Regions from separate parts of the Homo sapiens genome. Here all the other regions are linked to region 5. Evidence: promoter capture Hi-C in 16 types of primary human blood cells and fetal thymus (Javierre and others, 2016). All regions are on one chromosome and are shown on one strand. The core of a region is centred on a gene start or on the middle of the fragment in contact, and the rest is flanking DNA. Distances in the headings are between cores, read along the strand shown. Region 1 holds the start of MFSD6 (major facilitator superfamily domain containing 6). Region 2 has its middle 2.8 kb from the start of NUP35. Region 3 holds the start of OSGEPL1-AS1 (OSGEPL1 antisense RNA 1). Region 4 overlaps NUP35 (nucleoporin 35). Region 5 holds the start of ITGAV (integrin subunit alpha V).

Region 1 (2,700 bases), core at 106-2,605, 3.8 Mb after region 5:
GGAGGGGACCAGTGTCTCGTGTTCCTGACAGGAGAAAGAAATGCCTGGAGAAAGAAATGATTGAATATCTACGTCAATATTGAAAGTGGATTTAGCATGAGGCTACTATAGTTTAAGCTTCAGAGACCCTTCATAAGCTCAGGAAGGGGCCCTAGAAACTTCGTATTTGTAATTGTTTTATTCTTCCTAAAGAGGGACTCAAAATTCAGAAACTTCAGGGCCTATCAAATTCTTACCAGTATGATTTCACGGTTAAGAGCTTAAAGCCTGGAGACAAAAGAAGCCTGCTTTCCCTTTCGCTGTTTAGTAACTTTGGATGGGTCACATTAACTTTCAGCCTCGGCTTTCCTCAGTTGTAAAATGGGAATAACGTTTCCTACACCTATAGGGTTATAAGGCTCAAAGAGTACCTACACAGTGCCCCGTACATAATCGATGTTTATAAGCGTTAGCTACCATTGTCACTCTTGTCGTTGTTGCCGTTAGCTACCATTGTCACTCTTGTCGTTGTTGCCAGAACAAGACAATAAACTCCTTAAGAACAGGATGTGGCATCCCCCAAAGCCCATCACAGGCACACAGACATACTTGCCAAGTGAATACTCCACTCTCCCCCAACTCTCTGCGTGTTTAACTAGAAATACAACTTTAATTATATTCTTAGTGCGACACACACGGTTGGCTTTTCAGCAAGATGCCAGTAGCAGCTTCCTGAAAAAGGGTGCCTTCGTCTCAGTGTTCCCCCTTCTTGGTGAGCCCCGAAACTCACAGATCGTTTGTCTCCCGCACCCCGCCGGCTCCTCCCTCCCGGGTCAACCTGGGACAGACGCGGAGATAACGCACTGACAGCATTAGCATTGTGTGTGCCACTTAAAAGGCGCTCAAGGAATAAGGGATGTTAGTACATTTTCCCCCACATTTCCTGGCCCGCACTCATTGCCTGGGGGCTCAGCGGAAGTCGCTTGGGGGTGCGGGGGGGTGGAGGGTGCGGTAGGGATGGAGCCTCGCCCAGTGCTTTCGCCTCCTCAGCGTGCTCCCCGGGCCCGGCTGGGTTCAGGTGTCCCTCCGGGCCGCCGGGGCGGGCTGGAGGCCGGGAGCGGGCAGTCGACGCATCCGCCGCCGCCGCAGGAGGCGGAGCGCTGCACCTGGCGGCCGGTCCTCAGCGCCCGGCCCTGAAACGGGTCCAGCCGGTAGTGACCGGCGGCGGCGACTGTGAGGCCGGGGCCGGGGAGGAGGAGGAGCCGCAGCGGGAGAGAAGGTCGCGCCGGCGGGAGCGCTGGGCCCTCCGCCTCCGTCCTCCGTGGCCCCACCCGGTCCGCATCCCTCGCCTCGCCTCGCCGCGCCCCGCCCAGCCCGTCGCAGCCCCGGAGGAGCGCGCGAGCAGCCCGGGATGGTGCGCGCTGCCCCGACAGCCGCCGCCCCGGCGCCCCGAGCCGCCGCCCCGTGCTCCGGGGACAGGGCTCCCCGCGCCCCGCGCAGCTGAGCGCTGCCGCCGCCGCAGCAGGTGAGTCGGGCCCGGCTTGCGGAGAAGGGGCTCGCAGACCCGCCCTGGCCTCCCCCGCCCCGCACGGGCCCAGCCGGAGGGCGGGTAGGCACCTCAGCCGCGCACACCTGCTGCCGGGAAAGGGGCTTCGGGGCCGGGGCTCGGAGCCCAGCGTGCGCCGCTGTCTCCGCTCGGGCCTCGCTCGCCCGCCGCTCCCTCCCTCCCTCCCTCCCCCGGCTTCCGTGTCGGGTGTCATCTTTGTGGGGTGCTGGGGGAGGCTGCCGCCTGCGCCCCCAGCGCGCCCCGTGCTGGCAGCACTTCCGCAAACGTAACTGGAGTCGGGAAAACAAAGGCGCTGCCCAGGGAGCCCTCGCCGGGCGCCCACAGCTGCTGCCGCGGGTGGGGACGGAGGGTGAGCGCCGATGCCCGGGTCCTCCTCCGCCCGGGCCGACCCGCGCCCTCGCCATAAACATCCCTGGGAAAAAGGAGGAGGTGAGAACCTCCACACAGCCCCAGTGACAAGGACGCGGCCACTTGTGTGGCAGGAGGAGGAAATTGACAACGTCTGCCCTCCCAGGTTAATAAATACGGAAAAAAAAATACCTCTGCTCTGCCAGCCACCATCCTAGCAGACATCCCCCACCTCGTGCTTTACTTCCACTTGGTCTAACATGTCTCTGGAGCCCTTTTGAGATACTACTGGGGGTTGCTAGTCTTTCTGGGTCATATTTATTGCCCATAGAGCAATTTTCCTGCAAATTTAGGTAAGATGGTGGAAAAATACAAACGCAACTTTCCCCCTCGTTAATCCCATCCCCACATGGACAGACAGGTGGGTTAATTACCTTTATGCATTCGCAACCACGGACGTTTCTTTTCATCCCAAAAAGATTGAATAAGCACCTCACAGAACTACTGGAACATATAATACCTTGCTTATTAGTGTGCAAAAGACTTAAAGAGTTGGGGTTCTAATCCCAACTGGTATTTAAATAGATGTGTGTGCTTGGGCATGTCACATCTTCCTGAGCCCCAGTTTTCTCACATGGAAAAGAGGATGGTTGGATATTATAGTGGCCAAAATTTCCCCTAATCCTTCTAGAAGTCCATGATTTTCTAGAAATCTAACCTCTTAAGTATAGATGAATGTGAAGGGTGGGTGGACATACAGTTGACTAAAATATGTAATAAAAGGAGATGTGTACTTGGTAGGTCCT
Region 2 (2,700 bases), core at 1-2,500, 3.5 Mb before region 5:
ATGGCAAAACCCTGTCTCTACTAAAAATACAAAAAGTAGCCGGGTGTGGCGGTGTACACCTGTAATCCCAGCTACTCGGGAGCCTGAGGCAGGAGAATTTCTTGAACACGGGAGGCAGATGTTGCAGTAACCTGAGATCGCTCCACTGTACTCCAGCCTGGATGACAGAGTGAGACTCCGTCTCAAAAAAAAAAAAAAAAAAGAAAGTTTTGGCTACTGGTGTGTTAGGCTTGGTGGGAGAAACTGAAGGCAGGGAGATGTAAGGAGTTGACTGCAATTGTATAGGAATTGAAGAGGCAGAAAGAATATCTCAATGTTTGATGGTAGAGAAGGTGAATGTCAGAAAAAACAAAGTGGAGCAGACACTGTACTAAGAATAACCATTTTTCAAAGTAGGTATTGTTTCTATTTTACAAACAATATAATCTAGAAATCAAATACAAATCCAAGTTATATAGGTTTTAGTGAGAGAGTTGGGCTCTGAATTGAGGTTCGTCTGACTCTAAATTCTGCTAATGCACTATGAATTCAATTTTGAGTTTCTAAGAGATGGAAAGAAAAAGACAAAAGATGAGCTTGCTTTTGAGGTTTGATGTACGGGTAGGTTGTGCAGCAAGCATCTGGAAAAGTGGCATTTGGCTTTAGAGATGTTGGGTATAGATTATTAAAAATTATTTGCACAGGGTGACAATGATAAGGATTCCAAGGGAGACCACTAAGAGTTGAAAAAGAAAGGAGAGAGCAAAGGCTTGAACATCAATAATATTCCCAGGTTAGAAAAAAAATGGGATCAATTATTGAAAAACCAGAAAAGGAGTAGGAAGTTATGAGAAATAGGAAGTGTAGCATCACCAAAAATAAAGAAAACACTTGTACTTAGGAAAAGATTGTCAAAGCTGTTGGATACTGCAGATGTCAAGGAGGCAGGTCTAATTTGGCAATTAGAAAAAAAAAATAGTTGGGGTCAGTAGTTTTATTTCGGAAGAGCATTACACAGGAGCCAATCTGCAATTAATTAAAAATCAAAATAGTAAAGATAGGGAAACAGATAATTTACTAAAATCTATAGACACTTCTTTTGAGATTTTGAAAAAATGAAATGAGAGAGAAATTAGCACATGGTAGGTAGGTGGAGGAGCAAGGCCTAGGGAGGGTTTCAATTCTGGGCTTCTTTATAGCTTGGTAAGGAAAGAGCCTGTTGAAAGGGTAAAAGATTGAAATGCAGGTAAAGAAAAGAAAATAAATGTCTTAATGGAAAAAAGTTTTTAATTTAAAAAGTAAAGAAAATAGGGCTGGGCGCGGTGGCTCACACCTGTAATCCCAGCTCTTTGGGAGGCTGAGGCAGGTGGATCATGAGGTCAGGAGATCGAGACCATCCTGGCCAACATGGTAAAACCCTGTCTGTACTAAAATTCAAAAAAAAAAATGAGTTGGGTGTGGTGGCATGCGCCTGTACTCCCAGCTACTCGGGAGACTGAGGCAGGGGAATCAGTGGAGGTTGCAGTGGAGTGCCAGAGCTGAGATCGTGTCACTGCACTCCAGCCTGGTGACAGAGCGAGACTACATCTCAAAATAAATAAATAAATAAATAAAATAGCAATAACACCTGTCATCAACCACAAAATTGTATAAAATAAGTTAAAGGCCATTCTTTTTATTATTATTATTATTATACTTTAAGTTCTAGGGTACATGTGCACAACGTGCAGGTTTGTTACATATGTATACATGTGTAAAGGCCATTCTTAAATCCTCCAATTTACAAACCCTTTTCTACTTTACTGTTAATAGTTTGGTGCAAATCTTTTTCTTTTTCTTTTCTTTTTTTTTTTTGGACACAGAGTCTCGCTCTGTCGCCAGGCTGGAGTGCAGTGGCATGGTCTTGGCTCACTGCAACCTCCACCTCCTGGGTTCAAGCGATTCTCCTGCCTCAGCCTCCCAAGTAGCTGGGATTACAGGCATGTGCCACCATGCCCGGATAATTTTTGTATTTTTTAGTAGAGATGGGGTTTCACCATGTTGGCCAGGCTGGTCTGGAACTCCTGACCTCGTGATCCGCCCGCCTTGGCCTCCCAAAGTGCTGGGATTACAGGCATGAGCCACCATGCCCGGCTGGTGCAAATCTTTTTCAACATCTTCTTTTATTTAAAGAAGTATCACTCTTTTCTCTTTCTCTGCATCTGTTCCTAAATAAACCCGTTATTAAATAAAAATGGTGCCGTATATGCATGCATGTTTTCAAATTACTTTTTTTCATTATATCTATCACAGAGGTCTTTCTAGGTTAATATTTACACTCATATCAAATCCATCTAATTCATTTTAGTTGTTGTATAGTGTTCTTTTGTTTGGCTAGATCATAATTTGTATAGAAATTTCTTTTTTATTTTGTAGAGAAGTGGGGTCTCACTATCTCAAACTCCTGGACTCAAGTGATCAACCCCTCAGCCTCCCAAGGTGCTGGGATTGCAGGTGTGAGCCACCACATCTAGCCTCAATGTGTGTAGAAATTTATACATTGATATACCTTTCTTGGTAGCTTAATTCTAAAAAGTGGATTGCCCTGTGTTGTGGGCTGACTACTCCCCAAAGATATCCATACACTAAGCTTTAGAATCTGTGAATGTTACCTTATATGGCAAAAGGTATTTTGAAGATGTGATTATTAACTTAATCACCTCTACTGAATATTGAAATAGT
Region 3 (2,700 bases), core at 111-2,610, 3.2 Mb after region 5:
TTTAAATGAACTTCAGTTTGGGAATGTATTGCTTCTCCCAACACATTTCCAGTTTCATCCACCACAGCAGCTGCTGTATCATCACAACTAGTTTCAATTCCCAATACTATTTTATGAAGAAATAGTGTTCCAGGATGAAAATTAAAACTTCTTAAAAATTCATAAACTTTCCTTTTTGATGGTTTAAAAAAAACTCCTGCAGTCTTAGTCAAGATTAGCATACTTACTCTATAGATAATTCCTGAAAAAGAATTACAGAAACAACTTATTATTTGCAACTGACATTAGCCAGCTTATTTTTCAATATATAGTTTTACAGAATTACAGGAAAGTTTGTAAAAGTCACCAAAAGTTTGTAAAGGCTATAGCAACATGGGAATATAAATAATATTATGAATGAATATAATGTTCTCCAAGGGGGAAAACAGGGGTCAGATATAAAATTTTTTAGTATTATTATTACTTGCATGCTGTTCCTACCAAAAGACTTACTATTAAGACAGCTAATATAAAGTACAATAATTGATAGAGTCCTCTGAAAAGTGCTATTTATTTTTTGACAGCTAAAATTAAGACAAAATGTGGATTTTCTAAAAAGAATCAAACAACAAAGGCAGATGGAACAGATAAAAATACTGTTAATGTATTCCATCTCCTAAAAACATCTTTCAAAATAAAACTGGATCATTTGGTTCAAAAACAAGAGTTAACATAAACACACACACGCCAACTGCAACCTAACACCTATTTTATCCTTAATTGCAATCTTTGGAATTAAATCTCCACTTTTTGCTACAGGTTTTGTCATAACAAGGATCTTCCCAAATCCTTTTCCCCCAAAATAATAGCAGCCCATCACTAAAGCACACTAGTATTTTCACACTGCGAAGCACCTAATTTTATGCCCCCAGATCATCCGTTCTAAAACTTTCTGGGTGTTAAAGCAGGGCCTTTCTCCACCACACTAAAGGGACACGGCATCCCAGGGATTAGAGATGAGCGACCTATTTGCAGAAGGCAGTTGCGGGCAGTGCAGCCCAGACAGACACAACCTAGAGGAATTAGATTTGCATTAACAAAATCTGGACAAGGAGGATTGTACGAAGCACTACCCTTTCGGGCCAAGAAAGCTGCAGGCTGAACCCACGTGACTTGGGTAGCGCTGGTCTCCTGTCGGCTGTAAGGCGGCGACGGGCGCAAACTGGAACCGCTTTTCCAGGTGCGCAAAAGCGTCAGTGGGGTGAAGAGTGAGCAATTTCACCCACCTTCCACTTGGGCGGCAGTAGCTAGCACTTGTCTCCTTTCCCTACTAAAGACTGTCGACTGCCCTTATCGCTGCAGGAGAAAGCCCGAACCTGGCGCCCGGAAGTGATGTCATCGGAACTGTGCAAGGTCCCGTCCAGAGCTGGCTGCTGTTCCGCTAGCGAGCGGCATGCTTAGTGAAGAAAAGCTTAAAGGCCGTCTTTGCCCAAAACGCTCTCTGTGCGCACCTGCATTTCCCCCAGATTTGCAGGTGATGAGAGTTCTGTAAAATTACACAGCTAGTGACTGATCCAGCGGAGGCCGAATACAGGTTTGTCTGACTACACAACATCAAGTTCCAAACACTAAGCTACATTAAAAAGAAATTTTTTTTTTGCCCTTGGCTGGAATTTGGTTGCTACTGTGAGAAAAGGATGGGGTAGATTATTCGTCATTCATTTTTAAGGGAACTATCATCAAATCTAAACTTAGGGGTGAGGTACCTGATACTTTCATCGGAGAAATAGGATGGAATCTAGCGGCGCCCCCTAGCAGGGTTACCAAAGAACGGAAGTGTTTCTCATCGGACAGTGTAAACCGTTTCTCCCACTTCACTAGGAAGAAAGGGGCTGGCTTATTTTTACAATTAAAAAAAAAAAAAATCGGGAGACTGAGGCAGGAGAACTGCTTGAACTGGGACCCGGGAGGCGGAGGTAGCAGTGAGCCGAGATCGCGCCACTGCACTCCAGCCTGAGCTACAGAGCGAGACTCTGTCTCAAAAAAAAAAAAAAAAAAAAAAAAAAGGCTGTGGTAAATATTCAGTTGCCTTAAACCATCCTATTTTCATAATGCATTATGTTGTCCTTCCTTACTATGTACATGAAATTCAGCATGGTATGTTTTCAAAGTCTTGCACCTGCTTTTTTTTTTTTTTTTCTTTTATTGGTTTGTGAACTTTGTTTTGAACATTGGACAGATTTATTCCAAGAGTCAGGCTTTTCCCCTGCTGGTATTTAAGATTTTAGTAAGCAAGGACCTTAGAATCCACTGTTGTACAGGGCTGGCATATATACCTGCACTTTGCACGTTGTGAAGCTCTGGGTATAAAAGATGAGTAAATCCCATAACAACATGTTGGGAAGCCACAGAGTACAGTCTAGAGGTGGATACAGATAAATAAGTAAATAATTACCAGAATATGGTTGAGGTTTTTTATTTGGAACTTATGTTTTTCAAAAATTTCATTTATGTGTAACAATAATGATAAAGTGGCACTATGTACCAGGCACCTGCTGTAGATTAATTTCTTTCAAAATCCCATGAAATAGTTTCTGTCCTCATTTTACAGGCAACTGGGCCACAGAGTTTGGGTGCTTTGGAGGTCACACAACTAGGAAAAGCAAAGCTAGGATTAGAAGTCAGGACATCTGGCACTGGAGTCTGTTTTCTTAACTGCTA
Region 4 (2,700 bases), core at 166-2,665, 3.4 Mb before region 5:
TCAATATGCTTTTTCGGTATAATGTGTGTGCCATACTGCAAAGTCTGATTAAATAGTCCTTATAAGATTATCCTTACTTCAGATACTAGCTGTTAAGTTTGGGATGATCACTTTAGACCAGCTGTCTATAAATTAAGAGGTTACCAAGGCTGCTTGTAATGTTTGGTAGTTTACTAGAAAGACTCACAACCTCACTGAAAGTGCTGTGCTCATGGTTACAGTTTTATTACAGCAAAAAGAAACAAATTAGAGCCAGCCAAAGGAAGACACATAGGGTGACGTTGGAAAGGGTTCCAAATGTGAAGCTTCCTTTCCATTGTCTTCAGGGAGATGTGTTATCCTCCCAGCGTCAATGTATGGCAATATACATGGAGTACTACCAACTAGGGAAGCTCACTGGAGCATCTATGTCCACAGTTTTTATTGGAGTTTCATTACATAGGCATGATTGAATTACCAATCAGGTGGTTGAGTTCAGTCTCCAGTCTTCCTCCTCTTGTTGAGCAGAGACCAAATCCCTTATTACATATTGTGCTACTTTGTTTCATGATAAGAAGTTAACACCGCCAGGAACCTCTTTTTTCCAAGTTTCATTTGGCTCGTATCTATTTAAAATTTACTAGTCTTTTAATCTCTTTTGTTTTCATTTAGGTTAGTGGTCTATTTTGAAATAATTGAATCTTTCTTTTAATTGAAGACATTTTCATAAAGGGTAATAAGGTCTTTTGCCCTCTGCTTTAATCCAGTCTTAGGAAGAATGTTTGAATAGTGATTTACTCAGGGAGACACATTGCAGTCCGATTTGATGTGGTTTGATAGGCACACTTTATTTTCATCTTACAAAGCATGGCATGTGGGCATCAGAAGTCTGATTGAAAGGAAGTAAAATTAGTGGAGCAATTAAACATTAACTAGGTGGGGGGCAATTATGCTAAAGTTATGTAAATAGTTTTAGATTATGTATAAGTAATTATATTTTTCAGAGTAGTTGACAGGGCAAAAATTAGATTGCTTATTCGTTTGAGACTTATTTTTGATTTGTTTTATTTTTAAAGGTTGTAACGGTTGTCACAATTCGAACCTTCATTTAATTTCTTGCTTGAAGATTATTACATGATGTAGCATAACTAAATTTTATCTTCTTAATGGTAATACTTGTAGACTGTAGAAAATTTGGATTGGCTTCAGATTAAATGCCTTTTACTGTCTTCAGTTTGTTAATGGAATGTCTTTGTAGTAACTAAAATTAGTTAAGAGTATCTTTTGTATAAATATATGCTTCCACTTACTAAAGCAATAGTTGGTAACTTAGTTGATAAGTAGATTCTTAAAAATATAACAGCACTTGTCAAAGTGGGATGTTTCATTCTAAATCAGACTTATTTTAGAAATGTATTGAACAGGTTGAATATCCCTTAGCAGAACTGCTTAGGACCAGAAGAGTTTCAGATTTTGGAATATTTGCATTATACTTATCAGTTGAGCATTGAAAATCTGAAATTTCCTTTGAGTGTTATGCTGGTGCTCCAAAAGTTACACGTTTTGGAACATTTTGGATTTTGTATTTACAGATTTGGGATACTCAGCCTATACCTATTAAATGCTTCTGTGGTGATGAGGGAAGTAAATTGTTAAATGTATTATAGGATGATGTACTTTAGTATTCCTCCACATGTACCCCATACATTTGTACAAATAAAAAGCTATCCAGTATAGTTGAAGATTACCTGAAAGAGAATTTTTAAAAGTTTAATAAATATTACTTAGTTATTACATCTATAATGAACCTTAACACAAGACTTAGGTGTTACTCCAACAATAAAATGGGACAATAGACAAGAACTTTAAAAAGTTAACTGTTGTTAGTAATACATAACTTCAATTACAGCACAAATATTAATTTATAAAGTCAAGTCTAACAGACTTCTAGGAATGATGTCCATGTCTTGCCTCCAAATGATATCAAAACAAAACTACAGCCTGGACAGGATCAAAAGAGTTATCAAGTAAAAACTACAATGCAATAATATCATTCTAACTGAAAAGAAAAAATATAATCACTTAAGAATTTCAAAAATCTGCTGTGCATGGTAGCTCACGCTTGGAATTGCAGCACTTTGGGAGGCCAAGGCAGGTGGATCACCTGAGGTCAGGAGTTCGAGACCAGCCTGGCCAACCTGGTGAAACCTCGTCTCTATTAAAAATACAAAAATTAACTGGGTGTGGTGGCACACACCTGTAATCCCAACTACTCCAGAAGCTGAGACAGGAGAAACGCTTGAACCCAGGAGGCGGAGGTTGCAGTGGGCTGAGATCGTGCCACTGCACTCCAGCCTGGGCAATAGAGTGAGACTCTGTCTCAAAAAAAAAAGTATTTCAAAAATCTTACTTCTTTAGGGTTGCTAAACAATTTGAGTTCCTAGACTCCTTTGAATTCAAATTTAGAAACTAGAACTAATCTAATTTAACCTATTAATGTACACTTTCCTTTAGGAAAAATATTTTTCAGATCACCTCACATCTATTAAGCTTATTGAAGAATATATTTTATCCAGAACACTATTCTAGACCTTACTAGACAACAAGATGTTCAAATAGTACTGCTATTTTGAGTTCTACAAATCTCCAAACCGCTTTCTGTTGAGGCTGAACTAATTTACACTCCCACCAACAGCATATAAGGGTTCCCTCTGCAGCCTT
Region 5 (2,700 bases), core at 201-2,700:
TGGCAGGCTCATGACTTATCATAACCTGGAACTCCTGAGCCTAAGCGATCTATCTACCTGCCTTAGCCTCCGGCATAGCTGGGACTACAGGCATGCACCACACTCCCAGCTAATTTTTAAATTTTTGTAGAGATGAGGTCTCCCTATGTTCCCCTGGAACTCCCGGTCTCAAGCAATCCTCCTGCCTCAGTCTCCCAAAGTGCTGAGATTGCCAGCATGAGCACCTGGACCTGGTCCAATAAATATTACAAATTCGAATTAGGCATTTCACTTTCATTTATATACATATCCTTTCACAGGATTATTTGATAGTTATTAATGTATATTATGATTGAGTTTTAATAGTTACTTTGGGAAAACAGAAATTACTGTTCCAGTACTTACTTGTAAGTTGTAAGTCCACACAATGCACTTAAACTTCACCTTGTTCAACAGATTCTGTAGCACATGAAACACTTGAAATATGGAAGAGTCACTTCTCTGGGCACTTTGCTCATTTCGTCTGCTATTCATTCACTGATTGGACATTTTATTGATCGACTACTATCTGCTTGGCAAGGTGCTAGAAATAAGAACACTAAGAAAAAGGTCAAGGTTCCTGTCCTCAAGGCCCTCTCTCTCAGTCCAGTGTTGTCAAGGCTTGATGAAACACACCAGTGGCAAACAAGCACGCGGGGCCTTATTTCACCGGTGTGCGGTCCTTCTTCCAGCTCTGAAATTATGTCTATCCAAACATCCTAAATCAACAAATCAGTGTTTCTAAATCATACAACCGCAGCTAACAAACTGGGAATAAGGCTTCGATTATTCTGACTTGATTTAAAACGATCACTGCCAATTCTTTGCCCTGCGAATCCTTTCTTTGACTACTAAGTTAAGCTTTACATACCTCACTTGCAAGAGGCTATGCTGGCTTTCTGGAAATCCGTAATTAAGTTCAGTGTTTGTGGAATGGAGTGTAATTAACGACCATTAATTAACAGGGTTTCGTTCGTGAGAGCCTGCCAGGCTAAGCAGCAGAAACACGAGAAACTGATAAAAAGCTTTCCTCATTTTTAAACAACAGTCGCACGGAAGTTCCCGGCGGGACAAGGGAACGTGGGTGCCCTTGCTACTCCCGTGGACGCGGGTAGATTGGGACGCTGGACCGTATCTCCCCGCCCCCGCCCCCACGCCTCCTCAGGTGCTCAGCCTGAGGCCTTCGTCCAGGAGCGCTGCCGCTGACCCAGGCTCAGGAGCTGGGGGCCCCTGCACAGACGCCCAGGTCTCGGGACAGGCGGCGACTGCACTCACGGAAGTACGCTGAGCTCTCCCCTGTAGAAGGGCGCCTCTCCTCCCCCACTTCCTCCTCCAGCTCCACAGCAGCCTCCCGGGCCGGCTCCTCCTCCTTCCAGGTCTCCTCCCAGTGCCGCCGCGGCTCTCAGGCCTGAGGTGCGGCGCTCACCCCGGCAGTCCCCAGCCTCAGACGCTGCGTGGAGCGGCGGAGCCGGAGGGAAGCAAAGGACCGTCTGCGCTGCTGTCCCCGCCCCGCGCGCTCTGCGCCCCTCGTCCCTGGCGGTCGCTCCGAAGCTCAGCCCTCTTGCCTGCCCCGGAGCTGTCCCGGGCTAGCCGAGAAGAGAGCGGCCGGCAAGTTTGGGCGCGCGCAGGCGGCGGGCCGCGGGCACTGGGCGCCTCGCTGGGGCGGGGGGAGGTGGCTACCGCTCCCGGCTTGGCGTCCCGCGCGCACTTCGGCGATGGCTTTTCCGCCGCGGCGACGGCTGCGCCTCGGTCCCCGCGGCCTCCCGCTTCTTCTCTCGGGACTCCTGCTACCTCTGTGCCGCGCCTTCAACCTAGACGTGGACAGTCCTGCCGAGTACTCTGGCCCCGAGGGAAGTTACTTCGGCTTCGCCGTGGATTTCTTCGTGCCCAGCGCGTCTTCGTAAGTGGCCGCACTTGGAACTGGAGCCGGCCCCCTCCCCCACCGCGCGCACCCACCCAGCGTTTCTCCATTGGGATTGATTTCCGAGAGATCCCGGCGTCTGTCTGTCTCACCCATCCTACCTCTCAGAGTGGTTTATATCCTGGGTGGAGGAAATATTTGGGGAAATGAACTCCCTTTGGTACCCATCACCCAGTTACACCCCGCTTCTCACCTCTTAAAATTGGTTAGGGGCAGCGGGAGAGCTTTGAAGCAGACCTGTGCTTAAAAATCGGGGAAAGTGGGAAATCAACAAAGGCTGGTCTTGCCGGACTCCCCGCCTCCTGTGCCAGTGTCGAGGATTTGGTCAATATCATCCCCGAACTTCTTTTTCTCCTCTACCAGTTAGGCTTCTTGGTAGCCTTTTTCTGCTTTACAGGCTTAACGCCCGTCCTTTTCAGTCTCCCTAAACAAGCCCTCCCCCACTCTTTCCGCCTCTGTCTGATTCTGTTTCTCCTTACTCCTTTTGCAGACATTCTGATGACTTAAAATGACCATACTGTCCTATTGAATTCATTGTGTCTTATCTCTGGGACTGTCAGACATTTGCACATTTGAGGTTGAACAGATGAATTGAATGTGTCATCTGTTCTTTTTATAGTGATTCACTATTTAGGTCATTGTTCAGAAGGAACAAGGGTGTTTGCTGAGTTTTCACTCGCTGCAGGTCATTTGAATACTGCAGTATTTAATAATTCAGTTATGTTTTCAAGTTGCCAACGTTCCGCGTTGCAAGGGCCGTC

The links. The method cuts DNA at HindIII sites, captures the fragments that hold promoters and counts their contacts. A CHiCAGO score of 5 or more calls a contact.
Region 1: the fragment with the promoter of MFSD6 here is called in contact with the fragment with the promoter of ITGAV in region 5 in 2 of 17 cell types (M0 macrophages and non-activated CD4 T cells); the score reaches 9.8 in M0 macrophages.
Region 2: a fragment that was not itself captured here is called in contact with the fragment with the promoter of ITGAV in region 5 in 1 of 17 cell types (activated CD4 T cells); the score reaches 6.2 in activated CD4 T cells.
Region 3: the fragment with the promoter of OSGEPL1-AS1 here is called in contact with the fragment with the promoter of ITGAV in region 5 in 1 of 17 cell types (M0 macrophages); the score reaches 6.1 in M0 macrophages.
Region 4: a contact is called between a fragment that was not itself captured here and the fragment with the promoter of ITGAV in region 5, in 2 of 17 cell types (total CD4 T cells and non-activated CD4 T cells). The highest score is 8.6, in total CD4 T cells.

What each region holds. Positions count from the first base shown.
Region 1 is chr2:190,407,000-190,409,699 of GRCh38, forward strand. MFSD6 (major facilitator superfamily domain containing 6) reads left to right here and starts at 1,356. Exons shown (of 8, transcript NM_017694.4): 1 at 1,356-1,504. RefSeq lists an enhancer at 627-676 and a silencer at 937-1,976. The HindIII fragment of the contact is 2,674 bases long and covers 116-2,700 here.
Region 2 is chr2:183,120,262-183,122,961 of GRCh38, forward strand. It overlaps a transcript of NUP35 not described here. Among named protein-coding and RNA genes, the nearest start is that of NUP35, 2.8 kb to the right of the region's middle. The HindIII fragment of the contact is 2,711 bases long and covers 1-2,606 here.
Region 3 is chr2:189,761,420-189,764,119 of GRCh38, forward strand. OSGEPL1-AS1 (OSGEPL1 antisense RNA 1) reads left to right here and starts at 1,361. Exons shown (of 2, transcript NR_102429.1): 1 at 1,361-1,573. It overlaps OSGEPL1 (O-sialoglycoprotein endopeptidase like 1), which reads right to left and starts at 1,373. Exons shown (of 9, transcript NM_022353.3): 1 at 1,266-1,373; 2 at 1-241. The coding sequence starts at 221. It also overlaps a transcript of ANKAR not described here and a transcript of ORMDL1 not described here. RefSeq lists enhancers at 856-1,015, 1,302-2,048. The HindIII fragment of the contact is 3,776 bases long and covers 1-1,448 here.
Region 4 is chr2:183,143,875-183,146,574 of GRCh38, forward strand. All of the region lies in intron 4 of NUP35 (nucleoporin 35), which reads left to right. Among named protein-coding and RNA genes, the nearest start is that of NUP35, 21 kb to the left of the region's middle. The HindIII fragment of the contact is 2,224 bases long and covers 304-2,527 here.
Region 5 is chr2:186,588,606-186,591,305 of GRCh38, forward strand. It overlaps ITGAV (integrin subunit alpha V), which reads left to right and starts at 1,451. Exons shown (of 30, transcript NM_002210.5): 1 at 1,451-1,918. The coding sequence starts at 1,734. It overlaps LOC124906105 (a long non-coding RNA gene), which reads right to left and starts at 1,291. Exons shown (of 2, transcript XR_007087465.1): 1 at 385-1,291. RefSeq lists a silencer at 1,514-1,743 and an enhancer at 1,874-1,933. The HindIII fragment of the contact is 2,158 bases long and covers 1,042-2,700 here.